4 separate regions of the Homo sapiens genome follow, and all the other regions are linked to region 1. The links are contacts of gene promoters, found by promoter capture Hi-C in blood cells and fetal thymus (Javierre and others, 2016). All regions are on one chromosome and are shown on one strand. The core of a region is centred on a gene start or on the middle of the fragment in contact, and the rest is flanking DNA. Distances in the headings are between cores, read along the strand shown.

Region 1 (6,898 bases), core at 1,163-3,662:
CCTTCAGTGTGCAGCACCAGGATCCTCCATGGAGATAATAAATATTTGTTTACCAATTAAATGATTAGGTAGGTGCCCAGAATTAATGCCTCTGAATTGATGCCAAGGTACAATAGATCCATAGTTCTGTAAGATGCCAAAATACTATTATTTATAAGGTAACTAAAGAGCAGAAGTTATGAACTTGACTCGATCATTTTCTGGATGGGGAGTAATGGGAATTCCACCTGTTGAAAGTCAAGGGAAATGCTCCAGTTTTCCTCCCCCTACTCTCACATTTTAAAAATAAGTATATACATTTCCCCATTCCTACCCAAAACAAGAGCAGAATAATGATATCCAGTTGATGTTGTCGGTGGGTGCTGGCCTCTCCACAATCATTTATCATTGTTTGAAAATGAATGTCATGTCCTTTAGTACATACTTAAATTAAAAAGAACTAGCACAGTGTAAAAGCAAATGAAATCATTTTTTCCTCCCCCAGAATATGCCGGATTTAATCCAAACCTTTAAACAAGGTAACATTAAGCAGGCAAATGAATTCTTTGATAACACTAAATACGTAAATAGGAAAGTCAAATGACGTATGCATCCCTTATGGGTCCTCTGTCGGGCGAGCATTTGGACCAAAACGCTTATTCTGATTTTGATCCCATTCAGAGAAAGATCTGACTCTAACTGAGTAAAATATTCGAGAGACGCAATTCCCCTTTCCTACCCCCACAAACTCATTAATGAGCATGCTCTAAGGATAGTTTACTAACTTTTTTTTTTCCCATCAGGGTCTCAGTCTTGGAGAGTAAGGTGAATTAGGAATTTCCATAACCAATACTCCCCAGCTCTTTGTTCTTTAACACACTTGAAACCTTCTGAATCTGCAGTACCCACAAAGCCTTATTCAAATTATTGTATTTAGTTGGGAATGCTTAGAGGTGGGAGTGGAGGTGGGGGAGGAGGCAGTACAATGAAGAAAAAGAAGTTGAACCTTTGAAAATAGTACATTTTAGTATGATGATGGAGAGAAGAGAGGCAGAAAAGCAAATTCGCATCAGTTCAGTTGCCATGGAGTGGAATGATGCTCAAAATCAGTAGTGCAGATTGCTCGGAGGCAAGTCTTGAAAGGGATGTGTACTGCAGGGATCGATAGGGGAAGAGCAACTGGGGAGGGCTAGGCACTGGATGAGAGTGGCACTGTTGGAAGTCTGTACAGGGGAGGAGCCATGGTTGGACCTGTGGGGAAAGCCCATCTTGTGGCGACACACTGGTAAGGGCTACTCAACTCACTGTTGAATGCTGGCACAATAATTGGAAATATTGCACTGAAGAATTGGGCGCGGCTATATTTATGTAAAATTCAACACGGATGAGAAATGATTGAATGTTTGAGTGTGTTTCCAATACAACCCAATACTTGGCGTTGGTGCTGGTGGTGGGTGCTTCGTAGCGCGGAAACCCTCTGACGCACTGGATTCATTTTGCAGAGCTAACAAGTTATCAGCTACATCCATGCCGACTCCAAATGCCACAGCTGTCATGCCACTGAAACGCTATTCCTACATTCATGCCCACATTTATATCCTATATGCAACTCAAAGGGTCCAATGTGGAGTCCCACATCTAACCTTTCACTGCTCACAACGACAGCTCTAGGGCTATAAGCCCAAAGGCACACTAGATAGCAATCTGGCATCGTCCCCAGGACACTTCTTCCTCAGTAGACTGCCCAGGGACAGATAGGTAGATAAGGTTTGGATGACATCAAGCGAGCTGAACACAAGGAAAAAAAGCTTCCTTGGGAGACAAGAATGCTGGCATCTCTACGACAGGGGCACTGTTAGCATTACGGACCTAGAAAGTGAGATGTCACACATAGTCCCAACTACCTCCGACCCAGGTCCTCTCACCTCACCCCCAGCTCTTAGAGCTAGTCGGCTGTGGCGCATGCGCACTGAGCCACACCCGCTCCCCACGGAGCCCTGCGCCTCTCTGCTCGGCTCTGGCAGCAGCTCGGGATTACTCAGCAACGCCCCCCTGCACTGTCACCTGCCCCCGACTCCGACCTCGGGAGCGGCTCAGTCCCTTTTCTCAAGCTACGAGTGGTCCTGGGGATCAACTAGACTTTCCTTTCTCCCTCTTCTCACAGGCCCCCCACCTCCCGGCCTTCCGGGTCCTCCAGCCCCTAGCCCCTGTTCCTGCCCACGCACAGGCACCTTACCCAACACAATGGGAAGGAAACAGGAGAGGGCCGCGGGTGCCAGGCAGGTCAGCTCTGCGTGCCGGGAATCCGGCTCCTTAGAGTCACCGTCACTGCTCCTGCTGCCTCCTCGTCCTCAATGGGGCAGCAAGTGCGGCTTGGACCTCGGTGGCCTGACAGCTGCCGCTCGCGCCCGCCGCTGCCGCCGCGCAGCGTCTCGAGCCCGCGCCCGCGCCCGCCAGGGGAGGGGGCGGGGCCCGCGCCGCCTCCTCGTGCCCCTTTCTCGGCGGTGGGGACCCGGTGTAGCCGCCTCCCGCCCTCCATGTGGCAAGCGCTCCCTGGCTCGCCCACTCTTCTTTCATGCTCATCGTCCAACCCTGGTCTCCCTTGTCCTCCTTCTCCTCCCCTAGCCGATTAGTAGGCACAGCGGCAATAGACCGTCAAATATTGCTCTTCCACTTAGCTCCTCTGCAGCCTGGGCCTAAGCCCTCAAGCAGGGCTAGCCACTGCCCCACTTCCTGCAATTATCCTCTGATCTACCTCATTTATCCTAGCTCAAAATCCTTTAATTTTGCCAAGAGGGTAGTACATACACCCTCTTGTTTCAAATAACTCAGGAAAACACATGATCACAACACATTGCTAGGCCCTCTAACTGGCTACAGCTTATGAAATTTTCAGGCAATTAAAAAAAATGTCCACATCTGTAGCGCAGGCATAGAGGACACACTGCCCTTTACTCTTACCAGATACAGTTCTAGAGGGCCACACAGGGGGCATTACTTGAATTTCCCGGAATTGCTGCTGGGGCAGAATTTGATGTTTTAATTGTGCCTAGCCGACCAGCTAGTCTCTTTTTGTTGTTTTCTGTAGCCCTCTGGTACTTCCAACTAGTTTGTGATTTTCCCCCTGGAATTGAAGAAGGACAAAGCTCCTGAGGTCATTTAGCCTGCACTCCACCTCTCTGTCAGGCAGCTCCATCTCTGAAGCTTCCCCATTGCCCGAAACCCTGTGACCTTGTGGCACAGGCCCTCACTCATCTCATGACCCCGTCCAGGCCCTCACACATACCCGCTACTTCCATCTAGGCCACTCTTCCTCTGTCTCTTGACAAGGCAATCGTGCAATCAATCTCCGCAGGCCCCAGCTTAAATGTCACTTCTCAGGATAACCTTTCTCGATAATCTCAGAATAGAGATGGTGCCCCAGTTTATACTCTTGTAGCCTCCTGTAACTTGCTGTATTTTTCCTTCATAACACTTACCCATTTTTGGTGGTACATTTAAGTGTATGATTATTTGGTTGACAGCTGTCTTCCCTACTAAACTATAGTGGGGAAGGACTATGAGGTCAAGGACAACGTTTGTGTTCACCACCGTATGCACAGAGCCTAGGGCAATGCTTGCTGCATAGGACATGCTCAGAAAATATTTGCTGAATATGAATGAATGCTGTATCACTAATAGTTGTTATATTTAAATAAAATAAATTGATGTAACTGAATCTCATGTGCTCCTATTTAAACCAACCCCGTTCCCCACACATACACTCTAAAACACTCTTCTGATGAAGACGAGATTCACACAATCCTCTAAATCAAATTTTCCGCATACATTTTAGTCTATTAAAAAACTATTGAGCATGGGCCCCAACATATGTATAAGGATTTATAGATTATATACATGTACTACTGTACATGTATACATTACACATTACTTTAAACATACATTTTAATGAGTAAACATTAAAATACTCCACAGAAATTTTAAAAGAATGAGAAAAATAAATATATTGATGTTCCAATGTTTTCTTTTTGCACCTCAATAAATAGTTTTGTGAAATGCTTTAAATAACAGTCCTTCATATTAGAGTAACTCGTCTTTAGGTGTAACAATCTAGACTACTTTTTCATTTTCTCATAGATGCCATTTTCCAACAGTTTAAAAATCTCTGAGAAACCCCCAAACCAACTGGCAAGTTTTAAGGATCTTTTAGTTTCTAAGCTACCTCGTTCTGTAGTCAGGATCTCACAACTGCTGAAAGCACCACACGTTTAGTGAATGTTGGAACACCTAAAGGTAAGAAAAATCCTTTGTTAGACCAAAGATTCCTACATGTAAATCCTATATTAAAAGAGTCTCTAGAGGCCACTTAAAAAGCAGCTACTATTATCTTTCTAGAATGGAAGCAACATGACTAACACTAGTTGTGAGGGATCAGCAAAAATGGACAGCACGAAGATTCAAAGTAACAGCTGTGGATGGTTTTGTGGCTCTCAGATGGGACTATTCCCAATGGTCAATCATTGAGATCTGTCAAATAGTGTCCTTCACACACAATAAAAATTCTATTTTTATAACACAGTTACACACACACACACACACACACAATAGAATCATAGTGTAGTCGGTAGATAGAAGGCCAAACCAAGATTGCGTTTGGATACCAGAGATAGGGTTACCTTCAGAGTCACACACACACACACACACACACACACACATACGCTCTTCAACATTCAATGAACAAGATCTCCCAAAGTCTCATCCTGATCAGTTTGAAATACATTGACCTGAGCTTCAGGAAGACATAATTGTAATGTGATTAATTTAAAAGAACAGCCTGGTCCAGCAGTCACAAGTTGTTATGTACAAGAGGGTTCCGTGAAGCATTCAAATAAGTGTATAAACACTGCATACTATTTCCCTTCCAGAAGAGTCACGTTGCATATTAAAACATTAACGTCTCTTGGAGTCCTGAAGTAAAGAAATCTGTTGTGTTGTTTTTCAATCTTACATTTCCAAAACTTTTGTGAACATGAATTTCTTTTGTTTATGGAACATCTATTAGCAGGACTAGAACAGCTCAGGACCCAATTTAGCAACTACTGTCCTAATCATTAATATTGAACATATTCATAGGCCAACGTATTTGTCATCTTTGTCCTAGAATATTTATGTGGCAACTATACACGTTATATTTTCCAGATAGTCCTGATTTCAAATACTTTGTCCTATTGTCCTAATTTTTACAACAATACTCATGAGATCATCTAATGTTTTATTCAGAAATTATGGCAGTCATAGATATGTAAATAGGAAATTAGTAAGAATTTGTGAACTATTTACCTATCATTGTCCAAGAGCAAGTCACAGTTTCTGGTGATACAATATTTTTTTAAAAAATCATTTGACACAGGGATAATATTATGGAATAGGAATACTTTGCCAGATTTTTCATAGCCTGAAGGAAAGATCTCTTAAGATTATCCAATTATGGAAGGCATCAGTATGAACTCAGTTTAGTCATTTAAAAAAAATTTTTAAGCTCTGTCCACTAAAAATACTTAGAAACAATGAAAATCTCAGTGTCCAAATTCACCTATAGTGCCCATAGGATGGTTCTAAATGCTATTTCCCAATAAAAGGACCCAGGATTACTTAAATAAATGGCTGACTTCAGATATGTGGCAAGAAATATCCAAGATGAACATAAAATATCTTGTCACACCAGATAGCAAGGAAGCTAAAAACATTATTAGAGTTGAGTCAAAAGGACTTGAAGAGGCTGTCATCAGTCAAACACGGGGCAATTTGAGCATCAGTAAAGATAATAACTACAATGAATTGAAATATATCAAATATGTTTAAATATACAAATTCATAAAAACACTTAAAAACATAATTGCTCAATTTGGCCAAACCTAGAAAGCTAGCTCATTATTTTAAAACTGGTAAATAAAGAGAGTGACTCAAACATTTAACCTGCTTTTTTTAAATACAAATTATTCCTTGGTGTAACAAAGGAGTTGGCGAGGAAAGTGTTTTAAAAAGATTCCCAGCTAATAAATTATGAAGGAATGATAAAATTACAACCTTTAATGAATTAGTGGATCTAGGTAATAATAGTTAATGTCTTCTAACATTACAAAAGGAGTGTTAACCATATATCATATGCCTCTTGATGGAAAAACACAGCAGCACATAGAAAGTATTTTTTGTCAAAAAATGCAATTTGAACCCTATCAAGCTCCTAGATATAACTATGAATTTTTAGAAAAATACAAGGAAAAATATGTTAACATTGTAGGGATGTAAGCAACAACATCCAGACTTAGGTTTAGAGTGCAGGTGTGTGTGTGTGTGGTTTAGAGTGCAGGTGTGTGTGTGTGTGTCTGTGTGTTGAGGGGGGAGAAACTGCAGAAAAAAACGTGGTTTCTTCAACAAATAAATTTTAAGAAAGAATACAAAAATGAAAGTTAAAAAGAATGCATTTACAATGACATCAAAGAGAATGAAATATTTAGAAGTAAATTTTAAAAAAGAAGTGCAAAAAAAAGAAGTGCAAAAGTAACACTCTTAAAAACACAAAACTTTGTTGAAAGAAATTAAAAAAGATCTAAATAAACGGAAAGATATCATATGTTTGTGGATTGAAAGACAATATTTATAAGGTGGAAATACTCTTCAAATTGATCTACAGATTCAACGCAATTCCTGTCAGAACCCCAGCTGGCTTCTTTGTAGAAATTTACAAGCTGATCCTAATATTCTTATGGAAACTCAAGGAACCCAGAATAGCCAACACAATCCCGCAAGAGAACTCAGCCTTTTCAATTTCAAAACTTACTACAAAACTACAGTTACCAAAATAGTGTGGTACTGGCATAAGGCTAACATGTAGATCAGTAAAATATAATTGAGAATC
Region 2 (6,898 bases), core at 2,538-5,037, 290 kb after region 1:
CTCAGCACCCTTTTGTAACCATTGTCAGCCCTTTGGTGAATGTCCTTCCAGATATCTCCCTGTACCTGTGTACCCAGATAGATATATGTATAGATAAGAGTGACCAAATATAAGTGCTGTTCTATACTGTGTATTTTTCACCAAATAATGTATCTCGTGGACTTCTATGTCGATGAATATATATAAATATCTAACTTCATGTCTCTGTGTGATGTTACTTTTAGAAAGATAAAGAAAAATGAAACTAAATATAGAAGCTATAAGGGGGGGTCATACCATGAGGAGGGGTTTTTATCGACCTCATTTATAGGAAAGGAGAAAGGAAGCTGAAATGGACTGAATATCTCCCATACAACCCCTTAACACAACTGACCTGTCTCCTAGGTCATAGAGCCAACCCCTGCACCCATGAGTTAATAATGTTCCAATGTTTTCTTCTTGAACATATCATGAGACATCAGATGGGGAACGGGGGGGGGACAAAAATTGAAAATGGGTATTCCAGAGGCTCCATTCCTGTTTGTATTGGGAAGGGACAACTACTCCTGCCCGATCTCTTGACCTCAGATTAGAGGGTGATAAAAGATGACATGTGACCTCTATCCCTGAGGGTCCCAAGTTTCTGGTAGGTACAGTAGTCCCTATCTTCACGAAGAGGTCAAAACTGGCAAGGAGCAGGGGGGAATGATTTCATTTAAGGCAAGGAGTGGAGTGAAATGAATGCAGACCTGAGGACCTGAGGGAGTTTGCCTGGGAGGAAAGAGGGGGTCCCTGGGCTGACAAGACAGGGTGTGCAGCAGCCAGAGCTGGCACCTCAGGGAAAGGAGCACAGAGCTATGTAGGTGGAGGACAGGAGGACAGGGGAGAGGGGGAGGGGTATGATGGCCAAGCTGGTGGGCTCCCATCTACAGTGACAGGGACAGGAGGCCTGGCAGAAACTGCAGACCCACAGGTTTCACACAGAACCCTGGGCTATGTTGTAGGGGGAGTGGAGGTTAGGACTCTAATTAGGCTAGCAGGCTGATGGGGACAAAAGGGTCTAGGCTGAGGCCCCCAGGGAGGAGTAGAAGCCACACACTGCAAGGAGCCCAATGCAGCCTTCCCGGGGCTGCCAGGCCCAGAATCCACCTTGGAGTGCTCTCCTTCCAGAATCACCTCCAACTCTGCTCTTCCCTGGGCCCTTTCCCTTGCTTCATCCACATCCCCATAATCCCATTCCTATCCCCACTGCTCCATCCATATCCCCACAATCTCATTCCTATCACCCCTGCTCCATCCATATACCTACAATTACATTCCTATCCCCTCTGCTCAATCTATATCCTCACAGTCTCATTCATACCCCCCTGCTCCATCCATATCCCCACAATCCCATTCAGTTCCCCCCTGCTCCATGCACATCCCCACAATCTCATTCAGATCCTTCCTGCTCCATCTGTATCCTCAGTCTCATTCCTATCCGCCCTGCTCCATCCATATCCCCACAATCTCATTCAGATCCCCACTGCCCCATCCATATCCCCACAATCTCATTCATATCCCCCCTGCTCCATCCATATCCCCACAATCTCATTCAGATCCCCCCTGCTTCATCCATATCCCCGCAATCTCATTCCTATCCCCCTTGCTCCATCCATTTTATCACAGTCTCACTTTACCACCACTCCCCTTCCCTGGAGCCACACTCACCTCTTGGTGGAGGGAGATGGAGGCTCAGCTTCATGTGCTCTGCCCATCACCACCTCCCCCTCCTCCGCATTCCATGATGGCCTTAAGCCTCAGCCTCCTTAATGCTCATGGCCAGTAGACTGGGAGGGCCCCTCTGCCTCTGACCTTTTAGCTGAGAACTGAGCAGGAGTAAAGGTCCAAGAGACCCACTTTTTGCATCCCTCTGGGGCACCTCTGGCTCCTGGCAGCCACCTCCATCTCACCACAGGCAAAGAGGACCCCACCACCCACGCAGGAGGCAGCTTCATCAAGCCCCCAAAGCCACAGGGTCCCCCAACACTACCTGGCTCTTACAGCCCCCTATTCCTCCCTACCTCTCCCAAAGTCTATCCTTGGAGGGGATTTGCCCACTCATCTCTCCAAGATTAGAATATAGTTCCCCTTGCTGCTCACCTTTTCTCAAATTCACTCTATAAATGCTATTGAATGATTTACCTAGATATGCTGTCATAATTTCTTTCTGAAACCAGGTAGAGTGAAAAGAGGAATAAATGCTACACCTACCCCCATCCTCCTTTTCACTGGAGTTAGCTTGGAGGTTCAAGATCATTACTTTGAAACCCTGCTGTGTAATTCATCCCCTTTCCTTCCCCCCCATCCTGTCCTCTGTTGTGTAAACCTGAAACTGTCTAAATTTTTACTTCACCAAAATGATGCAAAAGTGAGACTTTTTATTTCATTTTGTGTCACACTGGCTTTCCTTTATTCAAGAAGTATGTATTTTCCCTAATTGGAAGACAAAGAAGACTTGGAGTGATTACAGGGTTAAGTGAAAGAAGGCTTTTAAAAAATTTTGTGTTTGATACCCTTCATTTATAATTATTGTTTTTCCTTTCCTTTCTCCCTTCATTCTCATTAGTCGCCAAGAGATGAAAATTGCTCTTTTGTCTTGTCAGGAGAAACCAGCCTTTGAATGACCTCCTTTTGCAATATCTCCCTCCTTCTTGATACTATTTTCCCTTGTTTCCATGACATCCATCTCATGGTTTCCCTCTCCCAGATCTTTTTGATGCCTACTTCTCAGTGTCTTTTGCCGAATATTCTTTCCCTTCCTGATCCTTCCACAATAGCAATAAAAATTAAAATCACTGCAAGTGCGATTTATTCCAAGCTTATTACATGCCAGGCACCCAGTGCCAAGCCTTTAAAATGCATTATTAGCTTTTCATAGCAACTCCCTTAAGATAAGCATGACTTTCTATTTCTAACTTGCTATTAATTTAATTACTATTAATTGACACATATTTCAGATGATGAAACAGGCTGGGAAGTTAGGAAACGTACTTAGGGTCATGTAATTATTTAGTGGTACAGTCAAGGATAAGACACTGGACTGACTGATCCCAAAGTCTGTGTTCCTTACTTGAGTTAGCCATCATGTGCACAGCACCCCATGAGGTAGGTGTTACTATTATATAAAGATGATACATGAGGAAAGCAAGGTCAACAGACATAATTAGCCAAATATCATAGCAGCAAGTGGCTTGTGCGCCATACACAAGGATGCAGCCTTTAAGGAATACTTGTGTGACACAGGCCACCTTTCTTTCACATCCTCTTGTTGCAGCTATCCTTCCTGCTGCCTGGCAACCATCCCCTCCCCCTTCAGAGTTGCATTATCACATTCAGTTCAGGTATCAAGTTTCCAGTCTATGCTTTTGGTGCAAATGGTTTTGAATTTGATGTATGCAAGAGGAGACAGCTGCAACAATGAGTGGAGGAGAGATAAATTGTTCAATTCATGGTGCTGGGGGGAACTTCATTACCTGATTGGAAAAAAGGTCAGTTTCCTTTCTCCCATGACACTAAATATGAATCCCAGATACATTTGAGCAGTAAATGTAGATTTTATGCAATTATGTATTAATTCTTCTTTAATCGTATATTTTGTTATAAAATGAATAAAAAGAATCAAATGTTCAAAAGCAACCCCTTTTAAAGCTGCAACACAATACATGTTAAACCTCTGGGTTGGAGAGAACTTTCTATGGTTAAGAGTAATGAAAGAAAGTATAAAAGAAAAGACTGATAACTCAGAAGACAGCATTAACAGAAATAAAATACCAACAGTAAGCTGAGAAACATTGGCAACAAATATCATGGAAAGGGGGCAGGGCTGGCAACAAATAAGAGAAGCAATAATAACAGCAAATCTGTATTGTGTTTAGATAGTTAACATTTATTAAGGTCTTACAAAGTGCCAGGCATATTCTACAAGCTCTACATGGCTTTATACTTCATTTCATTCTTACAACAAGCCCTGAGATAGATCTTATCTTAAAATTTCCACATTCTAAAACACTCTTTAAGCGGGGGGCGGGGGGAGCAGAGGAAAGTGCATAAAATATAAATTTACAGCTTAACAAATTATTATAAAGCAAATCACCATAAAGATCAAGAAACAGAACAGATCAGAACTCCAGAAATTCCCATAAGTCCTTGCCCAATCACAACCTCTTTCCTCTCTCCAAAACAAAACAAAACACTCTCATGACAGTTTTAGCTGTTGCTTTCTTACTTTCCTTTATAGCTTTACCACTCAAATATAGATGCCCAAACACTACTGTTTCTGGAGCTTTATGTAAATAGAACTATAATGCATATATCCTTCTATATCCAGCTCATTGCCCTTACAATTATGCTTCTGAGATTCAACCTGGTTGCATGCGGCATCGGTTCATCATTCTCAGTATTGTGTTACAGCTTTCCATTCTACGACTTTACAAGAAATTATCCTTTTACTGTCGGTGGACATTTGGACTGTTTCCAGTTGGGGACAATTATGAAAAATGTTGCTAAGAACATGTTTTTAATGTCTCCTGGTACATATGTGCACACACAAGGTATATATGTAGGAGAGGAATTGCTGGCTCATAGATTGTGTATATTTTCAACTTCACTAGATACCACCAAACTGTATATCAAAGTTGTACCAATTCCCACTTCCACCATCAATGTTTGAGAGTTCCTGTTGCTCCACATCCTCACAAACACTTGACATTGTCAACAAAGCTTCATAACTTTTGCTTGAGGTTTTGTACGTCTATTATTACATTTAGTTCAAGGTAATTGTGTATACTACTATAAATTAAATATTGGTTTAAATTTCATTTTCTAAGGGCTTGTTGATGGTATATAGAAATATAACTGGTCTTTTGATGTTGATATTGTACACTGACTTTGCTAATCTCTTAATAATTTTAATCTGTAGCTTCCTTAGAATTTTCTGCATACACAAGCATGTCATCTGTGAATGATGGTAGTTTTATTTCTTCTTTCCCAATCCATATACATTTCTTTTTCTTACCTTACTGCATCGACTGGGACCTAGAGTACAACTAGTGAGAAGAGACATTCTTGTCCTATTCCTGAACTCAAGGGACCACTTTGAGCAATTCAACATTAAGTGGATGCTTGCTGCAGGTTTTTAGTAAATACCACTTATCAGTTTAAAAATGTTTCCTTCCATTCCTAATTTACCATAAGTTTTTAAAATAATCAATGGATGCTGAATTTTATGAAATGCTTTTTCTGTATCTATTATATATGCTTTTTTCTCATTTATTAGTTAAAATGCTAAATTACATTATTTGGGTTTCTAATAATAAACCAACCAGGCATTCCTGAAATAAACAAGATTTGGTCCTGATTTATTACAATTGTTATATATTGCTGGATTCAATTTGCTAATATTTTGTTTAGGATTTTTAGATCTATGTCTGTAAGAGAGATTCACCTGTAATTTTCCTTTCTGTATAATGTCTTTGTGAGATTTTGGTATCAAAGGTTTGCTGGCCTCCTAAAACTAGTTGAGGAATACAATTCTTCTTTGGCTTTCTTCATTTAAAAACCAGGCAACTGAGGTCCAAGGTGTTTAGATTATTTTTCATAACTGCATTAAATCCAATTATTTACTTGTATCCATGATTTATTAAACCAGCCTCTTTAGAGCCATTCATTACCTTGTTTCCTTGTTTCACTGTTATAAACCCACTGAGAAAAGCATCCTTATTCACATACAGGTTTGCACATGTGAACGATTATTTCCTGAGGATACATTCCTAGAGGTGACGTTACTGGAACAAGCACTATGTTTCACAGGAACCAGAGCAGAAAGAGAGGTGGCCTGTGGCACATCCTACTTTAGTAGCTCTGGCTCACATTCAGGGCCCTTCCTCATCTCTTAAACTTGCTGGGAATACCCTTTAACTCTGAGCTACTAGAGACTTTAATACTTAATAATATTTAAAGGTCAACTCAGCTCTAAGAAACTCCCCAAATTAAGTTTTCAAATGATTTGGCAGGAGGAGCGGGTTGTTTTTAACATTTTCAATGGAACTTTCCAAACCCACATGAAATTATAGAAAATGAATGATGAATCCCCATGTACTCATCATTCAGCTTCAAGAATTATCAATATGTTGCATAATTTGTCTCATCCCCCACATTTTGATGAAGTATTTTAAAGCAATTACTAGACATCACATCAAATGGTATGATATATATATATATATATATATATATATATATATATATATATATATATATATATATATATATGAACATAGATATTTGGTAGAGATGGCAATCGCACTCTGTTGCCCAGGCTGGTCTCAAATTCCTGGCCTCAAGTGATCCTCCCGCCTTAGTCTCCCAAAGTGCTGGGATTACAGGTGTGAACCATCATCCCTGGCCTGATTCTTCTGTATTCTACCCATAGTTCTATCCCCCCTTTTTGTTCCAAAATTTTCATTGTGGTAAAAGTTACAAAAAATTCACCATTTTGACCATTTTAAAGTGTACAATTCAGTGGCATTTAGTACGCATTCCAAATATTTTTTATTTGTATATGTCTTTATTCTGAGTCCATTTTTCCAGAGGTTTATTAGTTTTTTGTACATATTTAGATGTCTGATTTCTTTTTTTTGTTTTTTTTTTTTGTTTTTTTTTTGAGACAGAGTCTCGCTCTGTTGCCCAGGCTAGAGTGCAGTGGTGTGATTTCTTCTCAGCAGGTGCAGACACTTCTCTGAAGACCAACAGCAGAACTGAGTCTCAGGATGGGTAAAGGCTTCTGTAAACCTCCAGATCCACAGCCCCAACTACTTTCCCTTCACCCTGGCTGAATACCACATCTTGAGGCAATCAATTACTAAAAGGCTGCTCACACTCT
Region 3 (6,898 bases), core at 2,559-5,058, 260 kb before region 1:
AAGAATGAATTTAGATACTTCCCTTACACCATATACAAAAATAAACTCAAAATAGATCAAAGCCCTAAATGTAAATCTAAAACTATCAAACTCTTAGAAGAAAACATGGGGGGGAACCTTCATGACATTAGTTTTGGCAATGATTTCTTGGATAACAAAAGCACAGGCAACAAAAAATAGATAAATTGGATTTATCAAAATAAACTTATGTGCATCAAAGGACACTAACAACATGGTGAAAATGCAATCCATGCAATGGGAGAAAATATTTGCAAATCATATATCTCATAAGGGACTAATATTTAGAATATATAAATAACTCCTACAACTCAACAATAAAAAAAATAATCGAATTAAAAACTCGGCAAAGGACCTGAATGACTATTACTCCAAAGGAGATATACAGATTGCCAATAAGTACACGAAAAGATGCTCAACATCACTAATTAGTAAGGAAATGCAAATCAAACCACACAATGAGATACCACTTCACATTCATTAGGATGGCTATTATACGAGAAAAAAAAAATAACAAGTATTGGCAAGGATGCAGAGAAACTGGAACCCTTGTGCATTGTTGATGGAAATGTAAAATGGTACAGCCACTGTGGAAAACAGCATGGCAATTCCTCAAAAAATTAAACATACAATTAATATATGATCCATCAATTCCACTTTGAGTACATATCCAAAAGAATTGAAAGCAGGAGCTTGAATAGATATTGTATGCCAATGGTCAATAACAGCATTATTCACAATAGCCAAAAGATGGAAACAACCCAAGTGTCCACCAAGGGATGAATAAATAAATAAAATGTGATATAGACATACAATGGAATATTATTCAACCTTAGAAAGGAATAAAATTCTGATACATGCTATAACATGGATGAACCTTGAAGACATTATGCTAAGTGATATAAGCCAGACACAAAAGACAAATATTGTATGATTCCATTTATATGGGGTACCTAGAGTAGTCAAATTCATAGAGACAGAAAGTAGAATGGTGGTTACCAGGGACTGGGTTTTGGGGGGAATGGGAGGTTGTTGTTTAATGGGTACAGCTTCAGTTTGGGAAGATGAAAAAGTCTGGAGACAGATGGTGATAATGGTTGCACAACAATGTGAATATATTTCATGTCACTAAACTGTACACCAAAAATGATCTATATGGTAAATTTTGTTTTTTATATATATATATATATAAATACAGTAAAAAAGTCCAATGTCATCATTATGAAAACTCTTAGCAATGCATACTAAAGAAGGACTATATAGTAAATTAGGATTTCTGCTGTACCTGTGTAAATAAACAAGCCAAATCTAATGAGTTCAGCCTCATTTTGTGGTCAAGAATAACCATACTTTGAAATTAATGTTTATCAAAAATAGAAAAACTATAGGAAAAATGTTCTTCAAAGGAAAATTGTGTGTTATTTATAGTACACCCTTCTGGGTTGTTTGATTCTGATTCTATGGGAGCAATATTATAGCTCTGTACACTTTTAGTTACTTAAAGAAATGGAAATAATTCCAGTCTATAAATATGCAAATGAATTTTGTACAGTGAGGGTGTGGAAAAGAATGGCCTTCCTCTCTTGCGGCAAAGCCTGAGAAAGAGGTTATTTTCAGTTTAAAAATAATGAAGCTTTAAAATTTCATGCAGTCATATCTGTTAATATTTATTATATTAAATAGTAAAACAGAAATTTTTAATATATTTATATTAATTCATGTTAAACTTACAATAAAATATCCATTACATTCTGTAAACCTACATTGTAAATTTATATGAAAAATATGTTTTCTAAAACAAGTCATAAGGAGATGGACTTTTTATTTGAAAATCTCTTTAATATTTATTCTAACAGAAGTCTGTTGAATTCTTATATATGTTCCTGCAATTAATCTGTTGAATATAATATATAAGGTATCTCTGGAAAATTTCAGCATATATTTGTGAGGGAATGAGAATGAAAAATATAGATAACATCTTACAGGTCCCGTGAATGGCTTACCTACAAAAATAACTAAAAGAACTGATTCGTTAGTAAAGTGGTATAATGCAACATTATTAAGTATAACCCACTATTTTATTTTTTAAACAAATTGGACCATAGATACATTAAACTAAAATTGATAATATCTAGTTTGTTGTAAAAAAAATGTTTTAAAATTAGCAGGACATCACACTTCAAGAACTAAAGTAGATTCAATGTTACTGGAACATGGTTCTTACCTTTGGTTTTCAATACAGCGTGTTTGTGGATATCCCCAGACAGCATCAGGCTCGGGTGGTCTGGATCTCTCTGGAGGTGATAGTGGAGCACTCAGTGTAGCAACCTGGCAGCCAGCCTTGGTGGTGATGTGCTCAAAGATGTCGATAAGAAAATCATTCATGATGCCCAAGAAATTTAATGTAGTGCTGATATCAGGATGAAATTGCTTCAGAACCCTGTAAACATAGATGTAAATATAGACAGTTACTCAACTGTCTCCATAGCATCTCTTTTCACATCTTCCCCTTCTGTGTTTTGGAAATGACTTTCTTAAAGCCCTTTTTATTAAAGTCAGATTTAGAAGAATGCTCAGCCATGACGGACATTGTTTTCAATACCTTGAAATGAAAAAGATAGTGGTTGGTGACAGGGTGGTGCCCATGTATAGGCCCTGTATTCAAATGAAGTACTGGGTACACACACAATTTCTAATTAGATGAAATGTAATTCGAGGAAACCCTGCCAATAAACCACACAATGGCAAATGTGATTGGATAGTTCTATGTGGCACAGTCCAATGAGAAGGCATGAAACGGTCAGGCTGACTGAAAGCTTCCTGTAGGCTCCACCAAGAGCACTTTGAAGATACCATCTACAGCAGCTAAATTGGAGCAATTTCAGCTTCAACTTGTTGAGTGATTCTGATCTCCATAACCCGGTCCGTAATGCCAGAGGAATGATGCTGGCCACGTTCGGGCCATTTGTCCAGTAACCCAGAATCTAATGTCACCCTGGGCTAAGCCACTGTGGCTTGAGCAGGAATCCTCCCACATGGGAGAGGAGCTCGTGGAAAACAAGAGACCTGGCTAACAAACCACTGCCTCCCATTCTTATCAAAAACCTCAATGACTCAAGGAAAGATGACAAAACTATGGTCTCCAAACAACACACACAAAAAACAGGAATATTTATTAAAATGTAAAATATTCATGAGCAATAAACAATTTAAAAATAGTTTTCTTGACAATACTTAGGTCCTAGAAACATACTTTAAACTGTATAATTTGTGGATAAATATCAGGGCTCTTGGCTGAAAAAAGTTACTAAACTAAACATCTAACTAAACTCCTTAGGGAGAAAAGGGAAATAATGTAGGAAATATTATTCAATGGAAAGGATATCTCTTTTAAATATCTATGATAATACAACTGAAAATATTGAATGAATGTATAAATTTGTGGAAAATATAAATGACAGAAACTAAACCCACTCTCCTCCCCACAAAAGAGATTTAAGGACTAAGAAGAATAGAAGAAATCGAGGTCACCAGTGAGCTACCATCCCAAAAGGCCAGGCTTCCAAAAGTATTTCATGTCAAACCACTAAGGAACAGGTGTTCTTTTCTCTTAATGGAACGGTGTCAGATTACGAAGGGAAAAAATATCATTTTGATGTAAGGAAAATATGCCAAAAAGAGTTCTGACCAGTGACATTTATAAGCGAGAATATAAAATCCTACATAAAATATTAGCAATTACATCTGGCATCATAGTTAATGATGAACAAAAAGGGACAAAGCAGGATTCATCCAAAAATACAAAGATGTTCCAGTAAAATACAAGTATGATTCACCTTATGATGTTAAAGGAAAAAAGGGTAATCTTCAGTTAATCTCAGTACATGATTTAACTTCCTTTGCTAATATAATGAGTTATACAATGTTTGTTTCATGGTAAAATACTAGCATTACCATCATTAGAGTCAGGATTCAGAAAAATTGAGCCCTCTCATCAAGACTATTATTTATCAAGATCTGGTGTATTTTTAAAAATCTTATAAAAGGACTTGAAAAAGGATTTTACTGCAGAGGAGACCTGGAAAACTACAACAAAATAATCTGCAAGTAAACTGCCCAAAGAGGTACCACATGATTGACTTACACATTTGGGACAACATTTTGGGAAACCAAGGCTTTTTTCAGAGCCATGTGTGGCTTGAAAAAAAGGCTTTCTCTTTCAGAGAAAGAGCTGTGGACATATTTGTAAAAAAACATTTCATTAAGTCACTTAATTTATATCATGCTGCTTCAAAATGCCAATGTCTGTCAGTGTGCCATACAAATGTTTTACCAAAATTATTCTAGCATATTGGTCTCATACACATTGTATTATGGAAAAAGGCATTTTTAATATATCAAATCCATGAGGACAGTTATAGCGCTTTTGCCATTTTCCTCTTGTAAATTCAGAAAGTAAATAGAAACATTAGTGAAAGAACATTAAAAATGCGTTATAATTTGGCTGAGAGTGCAGGGGTGATTGAGATAGATGAATCTGGTAAGTAAAGAAAAAAAACAAGGCTTGATGCTGAAAGGCTAGATGGGGCAATGAGTACATCTGATTATTAACCTGGTGGGTGCATGACGAACAAGGAGACTGGGCAAGAGTGCTCTAATTCTGTGTTAAAAAAAAAAAGACTAAGGGAAACAGCTTTAACTGCTGTAAATAACGTACTATAAGCAGGACTCCTGGGGAAACAGTGTTACTGGAATAAAAATATCACAAGCTTTTTTTGAATTCATGTTAATACATGATGAAAACAAAAAGCACAGAAATATATATCATAAATTTCAAGAAACAGTCCAATCCCCTTACCAAGCTCTCTGGACTCTGAAATTTGTATTCTATTTCATTGAGGCTTATTCAGTTCTGTTCTTTCCCAGTCAAAAGTCTTTTTAAAAATCATAAATCTTAATGAGCTGCAATTATGCCTGACTCAGATGATGTGAGCATTCAATGAGTGCAGCTCATACCCCACTCTCTGCTGGGTCAGCCAATGTAGGACCCGCAGCCCCTGAGCTATTGGCCCAGAGTGTGGGGAGGTGACCCTGCTGAACCAATAAGAGCCTTCCTGGGATGTTCAGCCTTGGATGTTGAAGAGGAAACTGGTGTGGCTCTTTGCTTAGGTTTGGTAGCTTTATTGTCTAATCTTTTGCTCCCAATCATGGAGATTTAAGGATATAAATTCAGGGCTAGTAGTTGTGGACATAATTCCTGCCTCATACATCATGTTAGTCCATTTGTGCTGCTAAATACCTGAGACTGGGTAATTTATAAGGAACAGAAAGTTATTTCTCACAATTCAGGAGGCACCAGCAAGTTTGATATCTGGTTGAAGGATCAGGTTCTGCTTCCAAGAAAGCATCTTGTTGCTGCATCCTCATTTGGAGGAAAGTGTAGGGACAAAAGGGGCCTACGCAGTTCCCTCCAGCCCTTTTATAAAGTCGTTTATCCTGTTCATGAGGGCAGAGCCCTCATAGCCTAATCACCTGCTAGGGCCCCCACCTCTGAATACCATTACATTGGATATTAAGTTTCAACATGAATTTTGGAGTAGACACAAACATTCAAACCATAGCACATGGCAACTGATTAAGAAAAATAATGTGACACACACACACACACACACACACACACACACACACAAGCTAAATGAATGTTATCTTATTTTTTTCACTTCCAAGCACATATGCCTGAAAATAAAACCCACCACCTCAACTTGGAAGGATGAAATCCCAGCTCCCAGTGCAGTCACCAGTACAATGGGTTTGGTCCTTATTCCTGGCCCCTTACTGCCCATCTCCTCTTTGATCCTGGCCTGTTACTACTGGATAAGAGGAGAATAAGGATGGTGTGAGGAGGAGAAAGTTTGAAAAAGTAGCCACTCTTTCCCCTTATCTTGAGGGACTTTAAAAACAAATCTAGGGTCATCGGCAGGTTTTGCCCAGTCCCTGAGGAGGACATTAGGGGAACATGAGAGCACCCAGACTTCTCTTTAGTGGGTCATCAGTCCAGTCCTTGCATGCTGACCCGTGGTCCATCTGAGAGATGTGATAGGCCAGCCCTGCCCCTCATGGCTTCTACTATTACTAAGTAATACCAAAACCCATCCATAATTTAACTACCTCTGCTTCCAAGATCTTTCCACACAGAGGTAAGTGTGAACAACATCAGCCTTTGGAGGTTGAAACTAGGCAGGGACCATATGGCTTTGGGTGGACCTGATGCTTGATCAGATATTTTGTCATGCACTATAAGGAATCTTGTTTTAAGAATAAATAATATGCATAGTCATTACACTTGTTAAAATAATTGTGAATAGTGAATTCTGTCCCTTCTAGTAACTGAGAGTCCTTTCCCAGATGGAATCTTCTCACAGAACTGAAGGACCTTACCCATGGCCGGGTAGGTTTTGGGTTAGGTCTGACACCAGAACCCAGGACGATCTCTTGAATTTCACTCCAGCGTCTGCTCTATCAGACATGGCATTAGACTGAGTGTTTGAGCCTATCAGAGACTCATAGAAACTGTGCCTCTCTGCATTAACCTGCTTGCCAAGAAATACGTTAAAATAAAATCTAAATGCTATGTTGATTTGCTTGATCTCCCTCAATATTCACTTGGTTAATTAATTCAAATTAAAATGTGTAAGCACATTTTTCTCTTAACAAACTCCAACAACTGGGGATATCAGCAATCATGCTGAATTCCAGGGGCTGCTTCTCCTTTTCACTGTCTTTGAATTTCTTCTTGTGGCCTCAAACCTGAACCCATTTTCAACTCCATAGGTATGTGGTTTTGTAGACAGGAGGGTGACAGAGGGATTACAATGGAAGT
Region 4 (6,898 bases), core at 3,158-5,657, 270 kb after region 1:
TGCATAGAGGAAATGACATTTGAATTGGACCTTTAAAAATGGATAGCATTTGTTGAAGGAAGAAATGGGTGCAATGGAATTACAGGAAGAGGGGAAAAGAACAAAGAGAAATGTAGGGCACACTTGGGAAACATCCAGTAGTCTTATGTGGTTGGGACATCGAGATTCATAATATTTAAGCAGAGGAAAATCAGGTGAAAAAAGTAGGCTGGTGTCAGATTATGGAGGACCTTGAATGTCACGCTGAGTGGTTTGGATTTTATCTTGTAAGTTATTCACATTGGACGGTGACAAGAAAATCCACTGAAAAGAGTTGTGGCAGTTGTTCAGGTATAAAATAAGAAGAGACTGAATTAAGGCTGTGGGTCTAATAATTGAAAATTAAGGACAAGTCTTTTGGCGGTTTTTCATATACTACTCTGTGTATATTGTTGAATGATTTTTAATCAAACATGTTTGGAGGGCAGGACCCATTCATTCATTCATTCTACAAATATCTATTGAGCACTTACTATGTGCATGACAGTCTGGGCACTGGAAATAGAGTGATGAGTGAGAGAGTCAAGTTCCCTATACCTTAGTACCCTTTGTGCTAAAAGTACCAGAAAATGATGATACCATTGGAAGTGGGAAGACTAGGGACACATTGGTAGGGAGAATAAAGAGTTTAATCTTGACATATTAAGTTTTGGAATGCCTATATGTCAGTGAAAATATCAAATAGGCAGTTAGATACAGATATCTTGAGATTTTATGTACTCTATCTCAGAGTTGACCTTTTTTGTACTCCATCTCCATTATCATAATAAATTTTTTAAGGTTTGCTGTTTACTTTTTGAAAACCTAAGGAATTAGTGGCATCTTTATAGATAATAACATAGTACATTATGTTAATATGTTATACTGAATATGTCAACATGAGGCATCAACACATATAAATTGATTTCTTAACAGATATATATTTTTTCTCTTAAAATAGAAGGACATTATATGTAAGAAACTCATAATAATCCCATTTGTGATAATCTGCTTTACTGTTAGTAATTGTTTAACAAAGCAACAAATAAAAATCCCAAAAAGGATATATTGAACACTATGAAGGATATTATGAAACTTGGAGAAACATTAAAATTCGAATTTCAACCATTATTTTTGTTTACATTAAAACTCAACAGTTGGCTGGGCACGGTGGCCCACGCCTGCAATCTCAGCACTTTGGGAGGCTGAGGCTGGTGGATCACGAGGTCAGGAGTTCAAGACCAGCCTGGCCAACATAGTGAAACCCCATCTCTACTAAAAATACAAAAATTAGGTGGGTATGGTAGTGCCTGCCTGTAGTCCCAGCTACTCAGGAGTCTGATGCAGGAAAATCGCTTGAACCTAGGAGGTGGAGGTTGCAGTGAGCTGAGATCGCGCCACCGCACTCCAGCTTGGGCAACAGAGTGAGACTTCGTCTCAAAAACAAACAAACAAACAAAAAAACCCTCAACAGTTAAGTTTTGCTGAAATTAAAATCTCAACAGTAATTTTGTGAAAAGAAAATCTCAGCATCTATTTCTGTACATATTAATAAGAATAGTTAAGAAACTCTTGAGGAATAAGAATGAAGTGGGAAGACTTTCCCTATCAGATATCAAGACATTTATTATTATTACTGTTACAGGTAATAAGGCAATGCTGTACTGGCACAAGGTTAGATAAATAAACTGATGGAATAGAACAGACAGGTCAGAAATAGTCCCAATAATATATGAAAACTTGATATTTGACAGAGTTGGCATTGTAACTGAATGGGAGAAGGAAAGACTTTTCAACAAATGATATTAGGGTATTGGATATTCATAAGGAAAAAAATTAGACCTCTATTCTCATACGCTACACGAAAATTAATTCCAAGTATATTAAAAACCCAAATATGAAAGTCAAAACCATAAAATTGTAAATGTTATTATAGTATAAAGGAATATCTTCATGATATTGGAGTATAGAAAGATTCCTTTGAAAAGACACAAAAGCACTTACCGTAAAAAAGGATTGATAACTTCGATATCTATCTTATAATTAGAACTTATGCTTATCAAAAGAAATCACTAAAATGGAAAAATAAGTGGCAAGGTGGGGAGAGATGTATGGAACACATATAAAAGAGGAAGAACTAAAATTAAAACAAATAACTTCTACAAATTAATTTGAAAAAGTCATACAACTCAACAGGAAAACATGACAAATGTCTAGAATAAATGCTTCACAAAAGAGGAAATCCTAATGTTCAATAGGCAAGTGAAAAGATGCTCAACATTATTAGTCATCAGGAAAATCAAATTAAGAGATGCCATTTACACCAACTAGATAGGCAAAAATTAAGAAGTCTGATAATACCAAGTGTTGGCCAGCAGGTGGAGCAATGGGAATTGTTAAACCTGGCTAGTAAGAGCGTGAATTGGTACATGCCATGAGGAAGTTAGGCATCATCCAATTAAATTGAAGGTGCTCGTATTCCATAAACCAGTAATTCCATTCTTACATAAGTGCCCTAGAGATACCTGTGTTTATACACACTACCAAGAACATTGATAGTAGCACCGTTTTGTAACAGTCAAAAATTAGGTTTCATCTCACCCCAGTTAAAATGGCCATTATCAGAAAGACAAAACAGAATCTGGCAAGGATGTGGAGAAAGGGGAACTCTCATACACTGTTATTGGGAATGTAAGATGGTACAGCCATTATGGAAAACGGTATGGGTGTCCCTCAAAAAACTAAAAATAGCACTACCATTATGATTCAGCAATCTTGCTGCTGGGTATATATCCAAAAAAATTTTTTTAACAGTATATTGAAAAGATATCTGCACTCCTATGTTTATTGCGGCACTATTTACAAGATCCAAGTTATGGAATCAACCTAAGTGTCCATCAATAAATAAATGGATAAAGAAAATGTGATATATGTACACGATTTAATAGTATTCAGCTATAAAAAAAATAATGCAATCCTGTCATTTGTGGCAACATAGATGAGCTTGGAGGATTTTTTGTGAAGTGAAATGTGAAGTGAAATAAGCCAGGCTCAGAAAGACAAATATCACATGTCCTCACTCATATGTGGGAGCTAAAAAAGTTGATCTCAAGGAGGTGGAGAGTAGAACTGTGGTTACCAGAGGCTGGGAAGGGTACTGCAGAGGAGTGAATGAAGAGAGATTGGTTAATGGGTGCAAAAATACAGTTAGAGAGAAGGAATAAGATCTAGTGTTCAATACCACAACAGAGTGACCACAGTATTCAATTTATTGTGTATTTCAAAATAGCTAGAAGAGAAGATTTGGAATGTTCCCAATGCAAAGAAATGATAAATGTTTGAGCTGATGGATATCCCAATTACCTTGATTTAATCATTACACATTGTACACATGTATCAAAATATCACATATACCCCATAAACATATACAATTATTATACATCAATAAAACTAATGAACTGTAAAAATAAAACCTGCAAACAACCAGAATGTTCCTCAAAGTTATCATGAATAAATCATGGTATATTTATACAATGGTAAACTGTACAACAATAAAAATGGATCAACTACAGCTATCTGCAATATCAATGAGTCTCACAAGCAATGTGGAGTGAAACAAGATAGTCACAATTCCAAGTCTAAAAAGCATTTAATGTTTGAACATCTGTAAAACAAAACTGTTGTTTAGAGATGCTTATAAGGAAGAAAACTTATAAACAAAAGCAAAGAAATTATTATTACAAAAGTCAGCATGGGGGCTACACCTAAGATGGAGGGAGCGGTGTCATCAGTGGTGGGGGGAGAAGAGTAGGTTATTAAAGGGCTCTATTTCTTGCTCTGGCTGGTTATTACATGGGTGATGGCTTTGTAAATGTTCTTTAAACTGGCAGTTCTCTTCTGAATGTATCTGTTTTCTTAATGAAATAGAAAGTAGGGTCACTAGTTGGAAATGATGAGGGAGGGAGTATTAAAAGATTTGAGGAAAGGAAGATGATATGAAAGAACCAGAGACACTGGAGAGTGAACAGACTAGAGAAATACAATATTTTTATCTTTTCTGAAAGCTTTTTATATTGTTTCTGATTTATTATGCTTTTTCTCTCATATGCAACGTCATTTTATTAACTTTAATATACTACACTATATATAGTTATCCCAGTAAAATTATAATGCTATTTAGTGTTTAAAAATAAATTGTAAATGCAAAATTAAGTCAGAATATACCATATAATGATTTGTCATAAAACGTTATTATTTCAACTTGAGCTTTATAAAAGCTGATGTAGTTTATATTTAGAGAAAAATATATATCACGCATATATTGTGTTGTATGATGGCTTTTTATTCTTTTTTTTGACTTTTTATACCAAGTAATTTTAGTGTTAAATTGTATATTTTATGTGTTTAAACAGATATAGATATTTATTACCTCCTTATTTTATTGGTCTCAACTCCTAAAACTCATTTTTAATATCAGAAAACATAGCTCCATTAACATCACTAAACTAAATATTAACATTGACATTTAAAATTACTTGAAAACGACTATGCCCTTAAATTTTGCTCACAACTTTTAAGTGGAAAAAGTTGACAGGTCTGTATAATTTTACAATATTGCCTAGGATTTCATATGAACCGATTTGAAAAACTCAATTATTTAAATTATAACATGCTTTAGTTGTAAATCCATGTTTATATTATAATTGCATAGCTTCAAGCTTCAACATACATAAAGTTTTTATAAAGGCAAATATAGTAAATTTAAGCAATTATTAGCAATTTAGCTTTAAAATATACTCCGAGGGGAAAATACCCAAACTTTTTGCATTGCTCTTACACCACGGCAATCAGCACAGAATATTTCCATGTCCAGATGTGTGGAGTTTTCCCACACACTAAGTGAGCAATCAGTTCTGCAGCGAACACCAGCTGGGTGTACTCCAATTCCATTCTGACACAATCTACCTGGAGATAGCGTCATATCCCACAAGCTGAGGACTAGGTTTCACAAGACTGTTCCCAGGCCCTTCAGACACCAGTCGCAAATCCAAGCCTCCAGAACTTCTGACAGATGGGCTTCAAGTTTGAGTTCACATGACCCCTTCTTTGGGTTTAATTTGCCAGAAAGGGTCACAGAACTTGGGGAAATACTTAACGTTTACCACTTTATTATAAAGGATATATCAAAGGATAGAGATGAAGAGATGCATAGGGTGAGGTACTGCGGAAGGGGCTCAGAGCTTCTGTGCCCTCCCTGGGTCACCACCCTCCAGGAACCTCCACATGTTCAGCTATCTGGAAGCTCTCCAAACCCAGTGCTTTGGGGTTTTTATGGAAGCTTCATTGCGTAGGCATGATTGATTAAATCATTGGCCACTGGTGATCAACTTAACCTTCCATCCCTCTCCCCTCCCTGGAGGTCGGGAATGAGGCTGTTAAGTCCCAACCCTCTAATGGTGCCTTGGTCTTCCTGGTGACTAGTTCCCATCCTGAAGCAACCAGAGGCTGCCAGCCATCAGTCAATTATTAGCATACAAAAAGATATCACTTTGGAAATTCTAAGGATTTTAGGAGTTGTATGCCAAGAAACAGGATCAAAGACCAAGTATATATTTCACAATATCACATATATTGTGTGAGTTTTCATTTTATTATATTCTGTAATAACTGTCCCATTGTCAGAGATAAAACACGGTCTCTTAAAAAATAATTTGGATCTACAAACATTGAATCTAGGAATATTGAAAACTGATGTATGCAACTCTCAGATAGTTCAGGGAAAAAATATCCTGTGTGTGTATAGACAGAGTGCACACTTAAATAATAAAGCAAATGGGGAGAAACATTAATAATAGGGGAATTAGGGTAAAGGGGACATGGGTGTTCTTTAAGCTTTATTTATGCTTGCAACATTTTTAAATGTTTGAAATTATTTTTAAATAAGAAGTTAAAATGAAGAAAGGGACATGGATGGACAGAATGACATAAGTGGAAATCACCAGTGTACTTGGGAGATGAATGCATCTTTTTCCTTTCCTTATGCAGACTCTGTGTTCATACTTCCTTGAATCCACAAGTTGAGTACTGTCCCAACACATCCCGATCTGCAGATGTGGAAGCTCATCTTCAGCTCTCCTGGACCAGCCATTTTCTGCCAACCTTGGTGGCAAATGCTCTCTGACATCATACCTCCAACAACCATGTCTTTAATTTCTGTGGCATTCAGTGAGAAGTTCTCACTGCTAAATCTACAACCAAGTAAGACAAATACAGGACAAATTTGGTTCAGTAAGGAGATGCAAGAGGAGGGCATTACTAAGATATCTGTAGGGGGAAACTATAACACATGTCATCTTGGAAATCCTCAAAATTCCAGAGTTGAAACAAATGGTACAGTTGTACAGTGTGATTCTGTTTGTGAAATTTCAGTTCCTGAACTGGTGCTAATAGCAAACATGCCATCAGTAATATAAACTCATCAAATGTGCCAGTTGAAAGTAATTTTTATTATTGTTATTATTATTATCAGTAGCAGCATCATTATCATTAGCACAAAACTAAATCAATTATTAAAAGAAAGCAAAAACACAGCCCAAAGGCACGTGTCTTGCTGACAGTGAGTCAATAACTTTATCGTCATGTACAAGGGACAGCACCCTGAGGATATACCATATCACAGCTTGATAATCAACTCAGTAATTTGACCAACGTTATTGAGCACCTAGGCACAATGGAAGATTTTAAAATGCATACAAAAATCCCTGCTTTCAATGAGTTTTACAGTCTAGTAGGAGGTATTGAAGAATACAAGAACAAAGGGTCACATGAGATTAGTGACATAATGGAATCAGTACCCTGTATGAAGTGCTGTTAGAAAGGG

What was found. Contacts are between HindIII fragments. The CHiCAGO score rates a contact against its expected background, and 5 or more counts as called.
Region 2: a fragment that was not itself captured here is called in contact with the fragment with the promoter of RAB9B in region 1 in 13 of 17 cell types (fetal thymus, megakaryocytes, naive B cells and 10 more); the score reaches 11.1 in fetal thymus.
Region 3: a fragment that was not itself captured here is called in contact with the fragment with the promoter of RAB9B in region 1 in 1 of 17 cell types (naive B cells); the score reaches 5.5 in naive B cells.
Region 4: a contact is called between a fragment that was not itself captured here and the fragment with the promoter of RAB9B in region 1, in 1 of 17 cell types (fetal thymus). The highest score is 5.0, in fetal thymus.

The regions. Positions count from the first base shown.
Region 1 is chrX:103,829,845-103,836,742 of GRCh38, forward strand. RAB9B (RAB9B, member RAS oncogene family) reads right to left here and starts at 2,413. Exons shown (of 3, transcript NM_016370.4): 1 at 2,216-2,413. The HindIII fragment of the contact is 1,396 bases long and covers 1,786-3,181 here.
Region 2 is chrX:104,115,649-104,122,546 of GRCh38, forward strand. All of the region lies in intron 1 of SLC25A53 (solute carrier family 25 member 53), which reads right to left. It overlaps ZCCHC18 (zinc finger CCHC-type containing 18), which reads left to right. Exons shown (of 3, transcript NM_001143978.3): 3 at 1-194. LOC286437 (a long non-coding RNA gene) reads right to left here. Exons shown (of 1, transcript NR_039980.1): 1 at 6,657-6,898. Among named protein-coding and RNA genes, the nearest start is that of ZCCHC18, 6.6 kb to the left of the region's middle. The HindIII fragment of the contact is 1,901 bases long and covers 2,838-4,738 here.
Region 3 is chrX:103,568,326-103,575,223 of GRCh38, forward strand. No RefSeq gene overlaps it. Among named protein-coding and RNA genes, the nearest start is that of TCEAL4, 14 kb to the right of the region's middle. The HindIII fragment of the contact is 1,953 bases long and covers 2,833-4,785 here.
Region 4 is chrX:104,095,945-104,102,842 of GRCh38, forward strand. It overlaps SLC25A53 (solute carrier family 25 member 53), which reads right to left. Exons shown (of 2, transcript NM_001012755.5): 2 at 3,270-6,898. Among named protein-coding and RNA genes, the nearest start is that of ZCCHC18, 13 kb to the right of the region's middle. The HindIII fragment of the contact is 654 bases long and covers 4,081-4,734 here.